6 separate regions of the Homo sapiens genome follow, and regions 2, 3, 4, 5 and 6 are each linked to region 1. The links are contacts of gene promoters, found by promoter capture Hi-C in blood cells and fetal thymus (Javierre and others, 2016). All regions are on one chromosome and are shown on one strand. Each heading gives the region's core, a stretch centred on a gene start or on the middle of the fragment in contact. The rest is flanking DNA. Distances are from core to core; before and after follow the strand shown.

Region 1 (2,553 bases), core at 31-2,530:
GCTGACCTTAGCGGGAGGAACGACAGGCTCTCCACCGATCCCATTCTTACCCTGGACCAGGTCTCACCTGCGGCTTGGGGAAGTCACAGAAAGACAAGTTTCGTACAACCCCAGACCTTTTCTTTTGGTAGTCAACAATTGGTCACATTGCACATTTCAAGGTTACAGAGGCCCACCATACACATGCGGGGCAGGAGGAGATAAATCTTGCTTGGGGCTAAACAATAAAGCTACAGCGAGTGTTCCAGAAGTTGACCACATCTGGAAGCAAGAAGACAGACTCTGGAAGAAGCACCCTAGAGACTCCAGGAACCCCCTTCACTCCTGGGCTTTCGGGACTCTACAGCGTGGGGCCTCTTTCTCAGACATCGAAAGGCCTCCTTTTCTGGACCACAGTGGAGCGATGTGCAGGTCATCGGCTAAGCTGGGCGGGTCGGGGAGGGCAGGGGGAGTACAGTTCCTTCGGATCCCAGCAAAGGTAGACTATCAATGGCCAAGGGTTCAGAGGCAGGAAAAAAGGCCGTTTCTGGGGGGTTGGCTGGGGACACTCCCCTTCCCTTCTCTCTCCGATTAAATATAAAAGCCGATGATGATGAAGATTGAAAAGATGAGGAAAATGGCAGCCGTGTCTCGGGTATCCTCCCAGCGGAGGCCTTTCATGGACCGATACTCCTGCCGTTTGCGAAGGGCCTCCCGCCGGGCCCTCAGGCGCCGTTCCCGCTCCAGTTGTTCCCCGTAGTGGGCCTGGTAGAAGGCGTCAAAGTTGAACATCGTGCGGTTGGCGCCGGGGGAGGCCCGAGAACCGTCGTGGGTCCGAGAGGTGGGCGGCGGGGTACGCGGCGAGCCGGGGTCGGGTGCGGGCGTCCTGGAGGGCCGGACGCCAGGTCCGCGCAGGTCCTCGTCGCTGAGTAGGCCGCGATCATACTTGCGACGGAGGGTGGCACTGCCCAGCACCACGTAGGCCTGGGAGATGCGCGTGAAGCGCTCGGCGGCCTCCGCGCTCCCGGAGTTGCGGTCCGGGTGGTAGAGAAAGCACTGACGGTAGTAAGCCGCCTTGATTTGGGCCTGCGTGGCTGTGGAGGGGACGCCGAGCAGATCATACAGCGCCGTGCGCGAATACGAGCAGTCGCCCTGGGAATAAGTCCTCGCTCCTAGGCCCAGGCTGGGTGCAGAATTTTGTGGAAAGCCACGGGCCTGCAGCAACCTCCAAGGTAACAGCCGCTGCCACCATCGCCAGCGCATGGCTGCCATGTTGAATTGATTCGGCAGGCGGTGCAAGAGAAACCGGCCAATGAGAGGAGTCGGTTGGTCGCCCTGTGGCCAGTCACGTAAAGGGGGGGGCGGGGCGGTCGTGGGGGTGGAACATGCGTATTACTAAGCGGTCGCCGGGCTGATGACATAAAAACCGGGTGCCGGCAGGCGCCAGTCGCAGGTGTGCTGCTGAGGCGTGAGAATGGCGTCCCGCGGCCGGCGTCCGGAGCATGGCGGACCCCCAGAGCTGGTAAGTCCCGGGGCCCGCGGACACCCCTCTCCCCACTTCTGCGGCCACCGCGTCTGAATTATTCCTCTACATGCCATTTTCTCTTTTTCGCAGTTTTATGACGAGACAGAAGCCCGGAAATACGTTCGCAAGTGAGGGGAGCCTGAATACTGCGGGGCGTCCGGGGGTCGGGAAGCGGCAAGTTGCCCCTGTTGCTGGCGTTGCCCGGAAAGGCCGTAGAATTTGGGGGTGCGGGAAGGGAAGGACCCGGGTGGGTGCCGATTTCTGTCTCTGGTAAATCAACTTTAAGTTGCCGACCTCTCTGGGCCTCGGTACCTCAGCGTTGAGGTAGGGGTGATCGCGCTTGCTTTCCGTGGGTGGTTTTCAAAGTCGAATGTGACAATTTGTCCTAAACATGTGGTAAAAGAGGCGCTGGGCGGTGGGTACGGGCGAGGGGTCAGTCCTGGTGGGGGGAAGGAAGTAATGGCCGTAGGATGCTTATCGTGGCGCCTTGTTGCCAATAAATCTCCAAGACAGCAGTTGGTGTATTATTGTCTGAATTTCATAGAGGGTAGTTTGTATAACTACTGAGTTGTAGCCAGGTGGGAGTGGCTCACGCGTGTAATCTCAGCAATCGCAGCACTTTGGGAGGCTGAGGCGGGAGGATCGCTTGAGCTCAGGGGTTCGAGACCAGCCTGGGCAACGTAGCGAGCCCCCGTCTCCGCAAGTAATAAAAAAATTAGCCGGGTGTGGTGGCTCCCCTCTGCCTCTCCAGTAGTTGGGACCACAGGCGCGCGCCACTACGCCTGGCTTTTTTTTGTAAATTTTTGTTGCGATGGGGTCTCGCTGTGTTGCCCAAGGTGGCCCAAGCCCAGGGCTCAAGCGATCCTCCCGCCTTCGTCTCCCGAACTGTTGGGATTGCAGGCGTGAGCCAGCGCACCTCGAGTCGTTAAAAAAAAAAAAAAGGGGGGGGGATGGGGGCGGGGGGAAGCTGGCGCGGTGTCTCACGCCTGTAATCGCAACACTTTGGGAGGCTGAGGCAGACGGATCACCTGAGGTCAGGAGTTCGAGAC
Region 2 (2,553 bases), core at 36-2,535, 240 kb before region 1:
CTTCTCTCCCACCAGGCAGGAAGTTAAACGCCATCTTGGAAACCCATTTAAACCCATGGCAGCTAAGTTACGCCACAGTCACAACACAAGAGAAAAGGAATAGGGCAAGCCGGCCACACTACCTACTGCCAAGCCAGCCTTTCCAAGCGTTCCAAGCTTAGAAGACTGTGAAATCAACTACAAAGGCAGACAAAATACTTACATCGCAAACCAGCCACCTCATAATCTTCTTCCTCCTCCTCCTCTTCTTCCTCCTCCTCCTCTTCATCACTCTCATCATCTTCACTGTCCTCAGAAGCAGACTCTTCAGTATAGTTCCTGTGGGTAGAAAAAATAATGTAGGGAACACAGTTTTAGCCCAAAGTGGTCCTAAGAAGGGCTCAAATCCCACAGGGATCAGGAAACTTCTCTTCACAGACTACATATGTATAACGTATGATAATTCAGGGAGGGAACCTGAATGTAAGCCAGGAGAGTTTTTCATAAAAATGAAAAACCAAGTTTCAACAGCATGCCTCATGCCTCCTTCTGCCAGGCCACAGACAGTTTGGACAAGATACCAAAGGCAACAGAAATTAAGACCAAAATGCAATCCTACCCTTCCCCACACAAAGCAATACAAAACACTGTTTCTTTTGTCTCACAAAAAGAGCCAGATAATGTAATACATCAGTTACTAAAAGCTGTCCCCACCTCTGAGGTAGACTGAAAAGAATAAACAGAGCCCAGACAGGTGTGACTTCACCTTGATGGCCCCCTTCCAGGAGCTGAAACAGCTTGCAGATGACCATAATATCAAAGCAGTGGTAATCCCAGCTCGGAACAGCTGGTCCAAAGCCCCACCATTTCAGAGCAACATGTCTCATCTCTAAGTGCAGCTGGGATGGAGTGCAAAAGAACCTGCTAATACTGTTAAGGTGGGGTCAGGATCAAACAGCTCTGCCCCTTAGAAGGAAGCCCAGGCCGGGCACCGTGGCTCACGCCTGTAATCCCAGCACTTTGGGAGGCTGAGGCAGGCGGATCACCTAAGGTCGGGAGTTCGAGACTAGCCTGACCAACATGGAGAAACCCCATCTCTACTAAAAATACAAAATGAGCTGGGTGTGGTGGCGCATGCTTGTAGTCCTAGCTACTCGGGAGGCTGAGGCAGCAGAATCGCTTGAACCTGGGAGGTGGAAGTTACAGTGAGCCGAGATCGCGCCATCGTACTCCAGCCTGGGCAACAAGAGCGAAACTCCGTCTCAAAAAAGAAGCCCAAGCCAGAGTACCTATAAGCTGCACATTTTACAACCCCAAATTTCAGTGTGGAAAACAACAGTATTATCTTGGCAAGTACAAGGTGTCTCCTCTTTACAAGGCCCGGTATTTGGCCTTATTGAGATTCAAGTAAAAAAACAAAGCACCACCTCTACTCTCAGGGCATTCATAATCTCATGGGAGACAGACATGTATAAAACCAGAGACAAGATCCATGCACCAAAATACTACTTCAGAGAATGGAGGTTCAGCTGAACACAGAGGAGAAACCATGAAGCCTAAGGATGCAAGCACTTTTCAAAAGCGCAGTGAAATTTTAGCGAAGCCATGGGCAGTTTACCCACTGGGAATTCTGGGCAGAGAATGTTCCCAGCTGGGAGAAAGGCACAAGAGGCAAGGATGAACAACAAACGGTCTGTAACAAGTACACAAATATGGGATCTAAAGCTAATAAAAACCCAAGCTGGTATTGTGTAAGAGTCTCAGAAGTGAGGCCAGGAATTGGGATGTTATTCTAGAGGCAATGGGAAGACTAGAAGTTTGTGATCAGGAATGTGAGCAGATCTTTGCTTTGTGTACAGCATTCTGGTGTTGCAATAGTTGGGTGGATAAGAGGGGAGAAGACGTGATATAAGAAAGAGGAGTTGAGAAGCCACCAAAGGAGCCCAGGTGACAGATGTAGAAGGGACAAATGATAGCGGAGACCACGGAGAATGGAGAGCAAGAAACTGGATCATCAAACATCTGGGCATTGGATTGATATCATGGCAAATTAATGGGTTTGTAGGATGAGGGAGAGATGTTCATTTCCAAGTTGACACCCAAGTTCTACTCATGATAGGGAAGAAAACATTATGTATCGGTAAGGAAGGTAATGAGTGTGAGATTTTTAGCAGTGGGTGATAGCAGAAGTAATCATGAAGACACAGGAAGTGGGCAACAGGAGGCTAAAGGCAGAGAGAGAGATTTCATTACTTGAGAAGAAGGTATGATCAAGAAGACAGAGAATGTGGCTGGCAGTGAAAACTAGAAATGTCAACATTCAGCTAAAATTAGCTCAGAGTCCTTTGAGCTCCTATTGAAGTACTGTAAATGATCAGGCTCTGTACCCAAAAGATGAACTTAAAGCTCCTTAGATTCATTCTGTTTGAATAACTCAAGCTTAATTATAACAGCTATTCATATTTATTCATTCAATTATTTTTAAAAGAAAAGATTCTCACCTGCCACGGGAGTTGCGCCTGGCAGTAGCGGGCTGGCAAGCTGGGCACTGCCACTCACCATCTGGTACTTCAT
Region 3 (2,553 bases), core at 35-2,534, 220 kb before region 1:
ACCACTAATCCACTTTCTGTTTGAAATAGATTTGCCTATTCTAAGATGTTTCATTTGAATGGAATCATACACCACATGGCCTTTGATGTCTGACTTCTTTTGCTTAGCATGTTTTCTAGGTTCATTCATGTTGTAGCACAGAACAGTACTTCATTTCTTTTTGTGGCTAAATAATATTCCACTATTTGAATATACTAAATTTTGGGGGTTTTTTGTTTCATTTTGTATGAGACAGCATCTCGCTCTCTCACCCAGGCCAGAGTGCAGGGGCATGATCTTGGCTCAATGCAACCTCCGCCTCCTGGGCTCAAGTGATCAACTCAGCTCAGCCTCCCAAGTAGCTAAGACTACATACACAAACCACCACACCCAAGATAATTTTTGTTTTGTTTTTTTTTTTCAGAAACGGAGTTTCCCTATGTTGCCCAGGCTGGTCTCAAAACTCCTGGATGCAAGACACTGGCCTGCCTTTACCTCTCAAAGTGCCGGGATTACAGGTGTGAGCCACCGCACAAGGCCTGGATATATACTAACTTTTATTTATCCGTTCCATCAGTTGATAGTCATTGCCGTTGTTTCCACCTTTTGGCTCTTCTGAATATTGATAGAATACTTCTGGACACCCACCCATCTGGGCCTCCATCTGCAAAGCTGTCTGACAACCATGAGGCTCACAGCTTGGTGCTGGCAACTGTTCTTTAGTGCATAATAATCCTGCTACTCTATATATAGATGGCCAAAGGTATATTTTTCCAATAAGCATAATATGCCAAGAAAATACCAGGCAATATGAACACAAAACGGTTACACATTTAAAATATTTTACTTTAGTAACTTAAATGGATAAGAAAAAAAACCCTCAGATATTTATATCCAATGCTAAAGAGAAGTAAGATGTGAGGAGTAAGATGAAAACCTCTTACCTCTTCTCTAGTCTCTCTTTAAGTTGACTTTCTCTTATTCCCTGAGGGTGAAGACAGTTTAGCAACTCATCCAGCTCCTTTTGACTATCACATAAAAACCTGTAGGGGCAAAAGAGACCTGATAACTCTGAAAAAAAAAAAAAAATTCAAAATCAAACACTAAGCAAGGGATCTAGAGTTGGTGGTGGGACTTGGGAGAACAGAATTCCAAATGTGTTCACAATCTACTATCTAGAAGTAGAATAAGTAATTTACTATTTTCATGATGCCTAATGTTAATTCTGTACTAGGACACCAGAGCCAATATGGTTCCTATTAAAATATTATATGAAATTTTATAAAGTTAATTGGCATACTTGTCCCTTTCCCTCCAGAGAGTAAACCTATACCCAAAATTCAAAAATGAAAGGTCATTAAATCACAGGTGATCACAGTTAAAGCCGTAGAATGGATCCTCTAAAACCTAGCTCGCTGCCTAAAAGCAGAAATGCGCATAAAGGAAACGAATAGCTATGCATACAATTTGTTAATTAATAAAATTTAAGGAAAATCTTAAATACTTCTATTCCCAACCAAATTTAAGCTACATTTCTACTGCTATATAAGATCTATCACATAATATACAAAGTTATATTACAGGGGGGAAAAAATCAAAATTCCAACCCTTAAAAAAACAAGTATCTTCTTAACAAAAAATCAGGTCTGCTAATGCAAGAAGTTTTGATATCCAAAATATCAGTCACACAAAGTATCCTGCGCAAATAATTATTAACTCACTGGCATCACTATACTAAATACTTTCTTCCTTAACAATTAAAAGGAAAAAGAAAGAGCAACCAGATGAATGCTCACATTACCATAGGTTCTGTCCTTGTTTGGGTGTGGTTGTCTCTACAGCAACTTCTGTTGCTGTTCCATGTTGTGTGTTCATGCTTGCATTTTTACCTAAGTTTGCTTTCTTACCTAAGAAAAATTGAGACATTAGGTTGACTTTAGTAAATACCCAATTGCTAGTTTCAAATCTAAGCAGTACACAGTGCCAAACTCAACAATTTGTAACAACACAGATACTTCCTGTGAAATATATCAAATATATCTTCATGTATAAAAGATGCTAATTTCTCTTAAATATCTTAAACACAGCATGTTATCTCAGATATTTGCTCTCTGAAGTGGAATCGTTACACAGTTCCAAAGTTTAGGGGTACTGCAACTTAGAATGAAGAATGACTAAATATCTTTATATCAAAGCAAAATAAAGAATTTACTCCTTTTACATGATGTTAAGAGCAAAGGCATCTGTAGTGAAGCAGAGGTAATGAGAACATATAAATACTATAGACTTATCCTTGGAGGCTTCAAGTGTCAAATAATACAACTAACTTTTTTGTAAATCAGTTCCTATATACTGATACGTGACTTTAACATAGATATATCTTGAGCCAATTTATCAAAGCCTATCTTAGATCATCACAATATTTGGTTTTTTGTTTTGTTTCGTTTTGTTTTTTGAGATAGAGTCTCGCTCTGTCGCCCAGGCTGGAGTGCAGTGGTACAATCTCAGCTCACTGAAACCTCTGCCTCCCAGGTTCATGCAATTCTCCCTGCCTCAGACTCCCGAGTGGCTGGG
Region 4 (2,553 bases), core at 15-2,514, 200 kb before region 1:
ACAGGTGCCCGCCACCACGCCCGGCTAATTTTTTGTATTTTTAGTAGAGACGGGGTTTCACCATGTCAGCCAGGATGGTCTCGATCTCCTGACCTCGTGATCCGCCCAACTCGGCCTCCCAAAGTGCTAGGATTACAGGCGTGAGCCACTGCGCCTGGCCTGCTAAAACTATTGCTCAGAACTCACTCTCTTTACACCTGGTCTCACTCTACAGTAAATGTACTCAGAGCCTGACAGAACATTACATTCTACAAAAACCAAAGAGTATACAGAGAGAGAAAACATCCCATGCCTTTGGATGGATGGGTCCTATGTGATCAACTTTAATCCTCAACAGATTATTTTAAATTTCTTCTAGAAAAAGAAAGAAAACAAAGCAATGTTTTAGGTTCTACTTATCATCTGTGTTACTATGTTTTGCCCTGGCTGAGAAGCCAAAGTCCTAATTTTATAAATAGGAAAAACACAGCTTATATACAGAAAACAATCAGTGACATGTCAGATAGTATTAGGAAATAAGAAATTATTGTTTAAGGTAGGGAAAACAAATAATAAACCTGAGTATATGCCTTTAACTTTGTAGACCAGTATTTTACATGAGTCTTAAGTTTTCTGAGTAAAATCACTGCCATCTTCCAGCACTTTAAGCAAGCTTCCATTTCCTAGTCTTAACCTAAATTATAGCCAAATTTCATAACATTAGTAAGTTAAGCCCCCACTAGAAATTCTGGGAGAAGCTTATTTCTTCAGAAATTGCCTTTCAGGTTTTAAGTTCCTGGAGTTCTAGTCTCTCTCTCCTACAAAAATTGTGGATCAGCTGGGCGTGGTGGTACGTGCCTGTAGTCCCCAGCTACTAGTGAGACACAGGGAGGAGGATCACTTGAGCCCAGAAATTTCAGGCTGCAGTGAACTGTGATTGTCCCACTGCACTCCAGCCTGGGTAACAGAGCAAGACCCTGTCTCTAAAGTAAGAAATAAGTGTGGATCAGCTTTTATGTCTTAGGAAACTCAAAAAATATTTTACCCATAAAAAGAGTCTTTCACATTATTCACATACTTGAATCACTAAACTAAAATACATAAAACAGAGCTGTAAGATTAGAAAAGAGGAAAATATTAAGGACTCAAGTAATCCAAGAATTAGTCTAAAACCCATTTAGAGATGGTTTCATGGAGTTCTCATATAGCGAAGATAGGAATCTCATGTGAAGACCACAGAAAGCTGAATCATGGTTCCAAACTCTGTGGCAACAAAATGACAGTGAACTCAAAATTTCTCCTCAACAAACAAAAACAAACATCTGAGAAAAAAATTATAGTTCCATGGAAAATTTAGTCCTGATCTAGAAAAAGCCAATTACTTTCTAAATTTTTCCTTTTAAGCAAATAATAATAATTTAAAGAGCATAACAGAAGACACCACTTATCTTGCTGGTCTAGAATAAGAAAATCTGCTAAGTGCTAAAACCATGACTGGAGGTCTTTACTAATGTTTTGGAGAAATAAAATTACTTTTCAATATGCTTTTGTCACCATAATCAACTTAAGATAATTGAACAAATTTAGTTGTTATGACTTCAGATGTCTTTATATTTTCATAATTAAATGAAATGGGAAAAAAAGAAATCCTGGAAATGTGACCTAGTTTTAATGGATCAAGAGCCCTTTTCTGGTTCTACGCTGGCCCAGAGACCAAGATGAAAATTATCAGCCAGTATGCTGCGTTACATTTACCAATGAAAGAAGCATTAAGTACTTTCAAAACCTACATTAAAAAACCACTTTAACAGGTAAAGCTTGAAATGGAAAAGAAAATCAGAAATCCTAGGCCAGTGTCTTAAGTCTTGTCATCACTTTCTGTTGGTTCTGATTAGACTAGGCCTCAGATACCCCATCTGTAAAATGAAATATATATATGTACCATATAACTTCATAAAAATATTTGGAAAATCAAAAGTGAGGATTTTAAAAATTACTCCTTCTCGGCCAGGCATGGTGGCTCACATCTGTAATCCCAGCACTTTGGGAGGCCGAGGCAGGCGGATCACTTGAGGTCAGGAGCTCAAGACTAGCCTGGCCAACACGGCAAAACCCCATCTCTACTAAAAATAGAAAAATTAGCCAGGTGTGGTGGCACATGCCTGTAATCCCAGCTACTCAGGAGGCTGAGAAGAAGGAGAAGGAGGTTGCAGTGAGCCGAGATCGCACTACTGCACTCCAGCCTGGGTGACAGAGCGAGACTCCAACTCAAAAAAAAAAAAAAAACAAAAAAAACTTACTCTTCAAGAGGAAAATACTAGGTTTTCCACTAATCTATCACACACACTGCTCCTCATTCCAGGTTCTTTTCAAGGCTGCCACTGTATGTGATCATCTTGTCCGACATGCAAAATCAGTTTTCATTCTTGGTAACTGGTTAACAAAATACTTTTTATATTTATACCATACCTCATTCCAAAAAGGGTCTGAGGCACAAAAGCACATGTATATAGACTTTTAAAATTATGCTAGCATAATAAAAAATAAATTGAACTGGGGAAGATATTAAATGTG
Region 5 (2,553 bases), core at 30-2,529, 170 kb before region 1:
TTGGCTGGGCGTGGTGGCTCACACCTGTAATCCTAGCACTTTGGGAGGCCAAGGCGGGCAGATCACCTGAGGTCAGGAGTTCAAGGCCAGCCTGGCCAACATGGCGAAACCCTGTCTCTACTCAAAATACAAGAATTAGCCGGGCGTGGTGGCACATGCCTGTAATCCCAGCTACTCGGGAGGCTGAGGCAGGAGAATCACTTGAACACGGGAAGCGAAGGTTGCAGTGAGCCAAGATCACACCATTGCACTCCAGCCTGGGCAACAGAGAGAGACTCAGTCTCAAAAAACAAACAAACAAAAAAAAACACTTAACATTTTACGAGTTTTAGGTTCACAGCAAAACAACACTGCTTTAGCAAATATACGTAAAGCACTGGGGAATACAAAGATTAAAAAAAAACATGCAGTTTGCTGGACACAGTGGGTCCCAGCACTTTGAAAGGCACAGGTGGGAGGATTGCTTGAGCCCAGGAGTTTGAGACCAGCCTGGCCAACAGAGTGAGAACCTGCCTCTATAAAAAACTAAAATAATTAGCTGGGTGAGGTGGCATGCACCTATAGTTCCAGCTACGTAAGAGGCTGAGGCAAGAGGCTGGCTTGATCCCAGGAGCTATGTGCATACCACTGCACTCCACCCTGGGCAACAGAGCGAAACTGTGCCTCTTAAAAAAAAGGAAACCAGGAAGCGTTAACATGTTGGAAACGTGACTTGAACACCAGAGCTGTTGCAAAAGGACAGCAATGATTTAACACTTTTCACTTATTAAACTAGCAAAAAAAAAAAAAAATTTAATTATCATACCCGGTTGGGTGCAGTGGTTCACGCCTGTAATCCCAGCACTTTGGGAGGCCGAAATGAGCAGGTCGCTTGAGGTCAGGAGTTCGAGACCAGCCTGGCTAACATGGTGAAACCCCATCTCTACTAAAAACACAAAAATTAGCCAGGCGTGGTGGTGAGCGCCTGTAGACCCAGCTACTCAGGAGGCTGAGGCACGAGAATCACTTGAACCCAGGAGATAGAGGTTACAGTGGGCCGAAATCGTGCCCCTGCATTCCAGCCTGGGCAACAGAGTGAGACTCCATCTCAAAAATAAAAATAAGAATAAGGGCCAGGCGCGGTAGCTCACGCCTGTAATCCCAGCACTTTGGGAGGCCAAGGCGGGAGGATCACGAGGTCAGGAGATTGAGACCATCCTGGCTAACATAGTGAAACCCCATCTCTACTAAAACTACAAAAAATTATCCGGGCTTGGTGGCGAGCACCTGTAGTCCCAGCTACTTGGGAGGCTGAGGCAGGAGAATCACTTGAACCCGGGAGGCGGAGCTTGCAGTGAGCCGAGATCGTGCCACTGCACTCCAGCCTGGGCGAGAGCGAGATTCCGTCTCAAAAAAAGAAAAAGCAAAAAAGAATAAACCACATTACCAGAGTACTTACAAGGTCAAAGTATGGAGCAGGAACACTCAAAGGCCTGGTAAATACCTAAACAAGTGCACCTATAACTAAATAAATATTCCATATTGCTACTGCAAAATGCCATTAGGCAAAGGAACCCAGAAACCCATACAGTACACTAATGTAATATAGTCTAATTTGTGCCCCATAAACTTAAATACACATACTGCTTTAGGGTTAATATTCCCTCCTTTCCTAACAATGTGAAGATGGTGGCAAAGAGCAATACTTCCATTACTTACAGCTCAGCAACTTCCTGTTCTTCCTCCCAGGCTTCCTTGTGTGTTAGCTGACTGCTTCCAGTACTCTTGCACGTCCAAATGCGCTCACTGTACCTTTCCAAGCGGGCTTCATACTCTCTGTTGGCAGTAGTTCAGGAAAACAATATGCAAGCAACAGAGACGACAAACCCATACCCATAAGATACTTATATACAGAAAAAAATCTAGTCTCCTTTTTAAAATGTGTAGCATGAGAGGATAAAAATGGAATTGGAGGCCGGGCGCAGTGGTTCACGCCTGTAATCCCAGCACTTTGGGAGGCCGAGGCGGGCGGATCACGAGGTCAGATCGAGACCAGCCTGGCTAACACGGTGAAACCCCGTGTCTACTAAAAATACAAAAAATTAGCTGTGAGTGGTTGTGGGCGCCTGTAGTCCCAGCTACTCAGGAGGCTGAGGCAGGAGAATGGCGTGAACCCGGGAGGCGGAGCTTGCAGTGAGCCAAGATCACGCCACTGCACTCAAGCCTGGGAGACAGTGCGGCTCCGTCTCAAAAACTAAAAAAAATAAAAAAAAATGAAAAAAATGGAATCAGGGCCCAAAGCAAGATGACTAAGACTGAAGTATAATGAGAATGGATTGTCATGGGCTGGGCACCTGCATGGGATTTACAGACTGGGATGATCACGTCTCTAATCTCAGCATTTTGAGAGGCCACGGCAGGACAATCACTTGAGACCAGGAGTTCGAGACCAGCCTGGGCAACATGATGAGACCTCATCTCTACAAAAAATAAAAATAAAAAATAATAAAAATGGTTTTTCGTGTTTTACAAAAAAAATTAATATTTTAGTACAAATGTGATTTCCTCAATTCA
Region 6 (2,553 bases), core at 22-2,521, 140 kb before region 1:
TGCCTCAGCCTCTTGAGTAGCTGGGATTACAGGCTTGCGCCACCACGCCTGGGTAATTTTGTATTTTTATTAGAGACGGGGTTTCACCATGTTGGTCAGGCTGGTCTCGAACTCCTGACCTCAGGTAATCCACCTGCCTCAGCCTCCCAAAGTGCTGGGATTACAGGCATGAGCCACCACGCCCAGCCATACCCAGTACTTCTTAGGAGAGGCAGGAGCTGGCCTTATCGCAACATAGGAAGTCCTTTCTGATCTCTGGCCTCAGTGCCTACTGTTCTCCTACAAGCATCCTCAGCTCCAGGCAGACTGGACCCTAACCCAAGAGCTTCGTCATGCATGGGTGCTTCTGCCCAGCTGTTCCTTGGCTAGGCTGCCTTCTCTTGTCCTGGAAAGCCTCAGACCTCCCAACACAGCCCCGACATCACTTCTTCCGCGGAGCCCTACCTCCCTGGCTCGCATAGGTGGAAATGCCCACCCTCTCTTACTCTCCTGTGATAGCCTGTGCACGCCTGCATTTATCATTTCGCACACGTGCTTCCTCCCATGAGCCTCTGTGGACAGGCTCTGTGGCTCACTTGTCCTTGACTCCCCAGTGCAACGCACGGTACCTGCATACAGTGGGAGTTCATTAAGTGTTTACTAAATGAAAAGGAGGAGATGGTGGCCAGACTGAGGAAATGGAGCCTCATATGTCTCCCAGAGCCTTCTGACTACTGAACACACGTTGGTGTTCCCTTTCCAACAGCACATGGTTGACCTTGGTGGGGCCTGGGAAAGAGGTGGGGAAGGAATAACTACACGCTGGGTTAGCTCCAATCTGGTTTTGAAGAGAAAGTCATAAACTCATGCTAGTCTTGACTCCTATAAAGACCTTTAATACCCACACTAAAATGGAAGTAGCATTTTGTCACCAAATGAATAAAACTGTCACTTTTGAGCTTAGACAAAACACTGTTCCTCCCTGAGCATCAGTTTCCTTAAATAGGGATGATAATAACTGCCTGGTTTATATCACAGGCTGATACATGGGTAAAAATGAGAAAGTAAAGTAAAAGTGCTTCGTAGACAGTACCTAGCAGGTAGGTGTAAAAGGCAGTATCATGACTACGGTGATGATCCGGCGGGATTGGTTTAGGAGGCAGAACATGTCCTAACAGTGGGTAAGCAGAAGCTTCGGCTTTGGGTAGCCTACTCTAAGCGACTATGATAAAACATACAGTCTAGGCCAGGTGCAGTGGCTCATGCTTGTACCTTGGGAGGTCAAGGCTGGGGGACTGCTTGAGGCCAGGAGTTCACAACCAGCCTGGACAACATAGCCAGACTCTGTCTCTACAAAAAATAAAAAATAAAAAATGAAGTACAATCTAAAAAAAAGCTTCTGATTCGGACAACCAGGACCTGACATGGAGTCTGTCACTTACAAGTTATGTAACTTTAGACACGTAACTTAACCTCTCTGAGCCTCAGTTTCCTTAACTGGAAAATGAGAATACCATTACCTATCTTGCAGAGTTATCGTGAAGTTTAAATGAAAAGATTTAGGTCAAGTGCCTCGCAAAATACCAGCGAAACAGCAGGCACTGAATTGATACACAGAATTCTTTTTTTTTTTTTTTGAGACGGAGTCTCACTCTGCAGCCCAGGCTGGAGTGCAGTGGCGCAATCTCGGCTCACCGCAACCTCCACCTCCTGGGTTTAAGCGATTCTCCTGTCTCAGACCCCCGAGTAGCTGGGATTACAGGCACGCGCCACCACGCTCAGCTAACTTTTTGTATTTTTAGTAGAGACTGGGTTTCACCATATTGGCCAGGCTCGTCTTGAACTCCTGACCTCAGGTGATCTGCCCGCCTCAGACTCCCAAAGTGCTGAGGTTACAGGTGTGAGTCACTGCACCTGGCCAATTCTTCTTATTAATGCATTCATCCAAGTTTTCATTCTCCTGCAAGGAAGACACAGAGATGCAACTCACCCTGGAATTCAAGAAGGAGAGAGGAATTGGCTGAGGCATCAGAAGGAAAGCCATTAGGTTCTCGGGCTGCTGAACTGTTCGATTTTGACTTTTCTTTCTAGAAAAGGAAAAAAAGAGGAATATGACAGAGCCAAGCAGGAGACTCACAGAGAGGGAGGAGGGTGCTATGTGACAGACCACAGAGGTCTGGATTAGGACTGAACAGGAAAAACGACAGCAGCGTGAGAATCCAAGGACCCAAGGAAGAACAGAATCCTGGACAAGCAACTTCTCCTCAAGCCTCAGAAAAATGAACCCTTCCAGCAGGAATACTGTGAATCATAAGCAACAGGCAGATACATACACTTCGACTAGAACATCCCATAGTATCCCTCTCCTGCCCTGATCAAATTGCGCCAGGCAACCCTTCTCTATACGAATGGGCAAGAAATACAAAACACTCATTTGAGAAAGATTCCTGTTTCAGTAGCAGAGTGGGGAAAAAGTGAGAGAAGAAGGAACCTCATGTAACACAGACAGTGACAGGACAAATGGGCCCAGGCTGGCTCTATTCCTGATCCGTCATCCTCATCCATTCAAAACGA

Evidence for each region. Contacts are between HindIII fragments. The CHiCAGO score rates a contact against its expected background, and 5 or more counts as called.
Region 2: a fragment that was not itself captured here is called in contact with the fragment with the promoter of DNAJC30 in region 1 in 5 of 17 cell types (total CD8 T cells, activated CD4 T cells, erythroblasts and 2 more); the score reaches 6.5 in total CD8 T cells.
Region 3: a contact is called between a fragment that was not itself captured here and the fragment with the promoter of DNAJC30 in region 1, in 2 of 17 cell types (M0 macrophages and naive CD8 T cells). The highest score is 6.7, in M0 macrophages.
Region 4: a contact is called between a fragment that was not itself captured here and the fragment with the promoter of DNAJC30 in region 1, in 10 of 17 cell types (naive CD4 T cells, monocytes, total CD8 T cells and 7 more). The highest score is 9.7, in naive CD4 T cells.
Region 5: a contact is called between a fragment that was not itself captured here and the fragment with the promoter of DNAJC30 in region 1, in 6 of 17 cell types (naive CD8 T cells, activated CD4 T cells, neutrophils and 3 more). The highest score is 7.8, in naive CD8 T cells.
Region 6: a contact is called between a fragment that was not itself captured here and the fragment with the promoter of DNAJC30 in region 1, in 11 of 17 cell types (naive CD4 T cells, total CD8 T cells, total CD4 T cells and 8 more). The highest score is 8.9, in naive CD4 T cells.

Annotation. Positions count from the first base shown.
Region 1 is chr7:73,682,173-73,684,725 of GRCh38, forward strand. It overlaps DNAJC30 (DnaJ heat shock protein family (Hsp40) member C30), which reads right to left and starts at 1,281. Exons shown (of 1, transcript NM_032317.3): 1 at 1-1,281. The coding sequence starts at 1,251. The coding sequence ends at 571. BUD23 (BUD23 rRNA methyltransferase and ribosome maturation factor) reads left to right here and starts at 1,425. Exons shown (of 12, transcript NM_017528.5): 1 at 1,425-1,501; 2 at 1,595-1,632. The coding sequence starts at 1,454. RefSeq lists enhancers at 703-792, 1,033-1,202, 2,133-2,553. The HindIII fragment of the contact is 21,940 bases long and covers 1-2,553 here.
Region 2 is chr7:73,447,062-73,449,614 of GRCh38, forward strand. BAZ1B (bromodomain adjacent to zinc finger domain 1B) reads right to left here. Exons shown (of 20, transcript NM_032408.4): 15 at 2,481-2,553; 16 at 203-318. Among named protein-coding and RNA genes, the nearest start is that of FZD9, 15 kb to the left of the region's middle. The HindIII fragment of the contact is 2,262 bases long and covers 155-2,416 here.
Region 3 is chr7:73,464,516-73,467,068 of GRCh38, forward strand. BAZ1B (bromodomain adjacent to zinc finger domain 1B) reads right to left here. Exons shown (of 20, transcript NM_032408.4): 10 at 1,781-1,886; 11 at 924-1,022. Among named protein-coding and RNA genes, the nearest start is that of FZD9, 32 kb to the left of the region's middle. The HindIII fragment of the contact is 4,496 bases long and covers 1-2,553 here.
Region 4 is chr7:73,486,466-73,489,018 of GRCh38, forward strand. All of the region lies in intron 6 of BAZ1B (bromodomain adjacent to zinc finger domain 1B), which reads right to left. Among named protein-coding and RNA genes, the nearest start is that of BAZ1B, 35 kb to the right of the region's middle. The HindIII fragment of the contact is 1,059 bases long and covers 736-1,794 here.
Region 5 is chr7:73,509,038-73,511,590 of GRCh38, forward strand. BAZ1B (bromodomain adjacent to zinc finger domain 1B) reads right to left here. Exons shown (of 20, transcript NM_032408.4): 2 at 1,699-1,815. Among named protein-coding and RNA genes, the nearest start is that of BAZ1B, 12 kb to the right of the region's middle. The HindIII fragment of the contact is 3,762 bases long and covers 1-2,553 here.
Region 6 is chr7:73,541,579-73,544,131 of GRCh38, forward strand. BCL7B (BAF chromatin remodeling complex subunit BCL7B) reads right to left here. Exons shown (of 6, transcript NM_001707.4): 3 at 1,970-2,066. Among named protein-coding and RNA genes, the nearest start is that of BCL7B, 15 kb to the right of the region's middle. The HindIII fragment of the contact is 204 bases long and covers 1,170-1,373 here.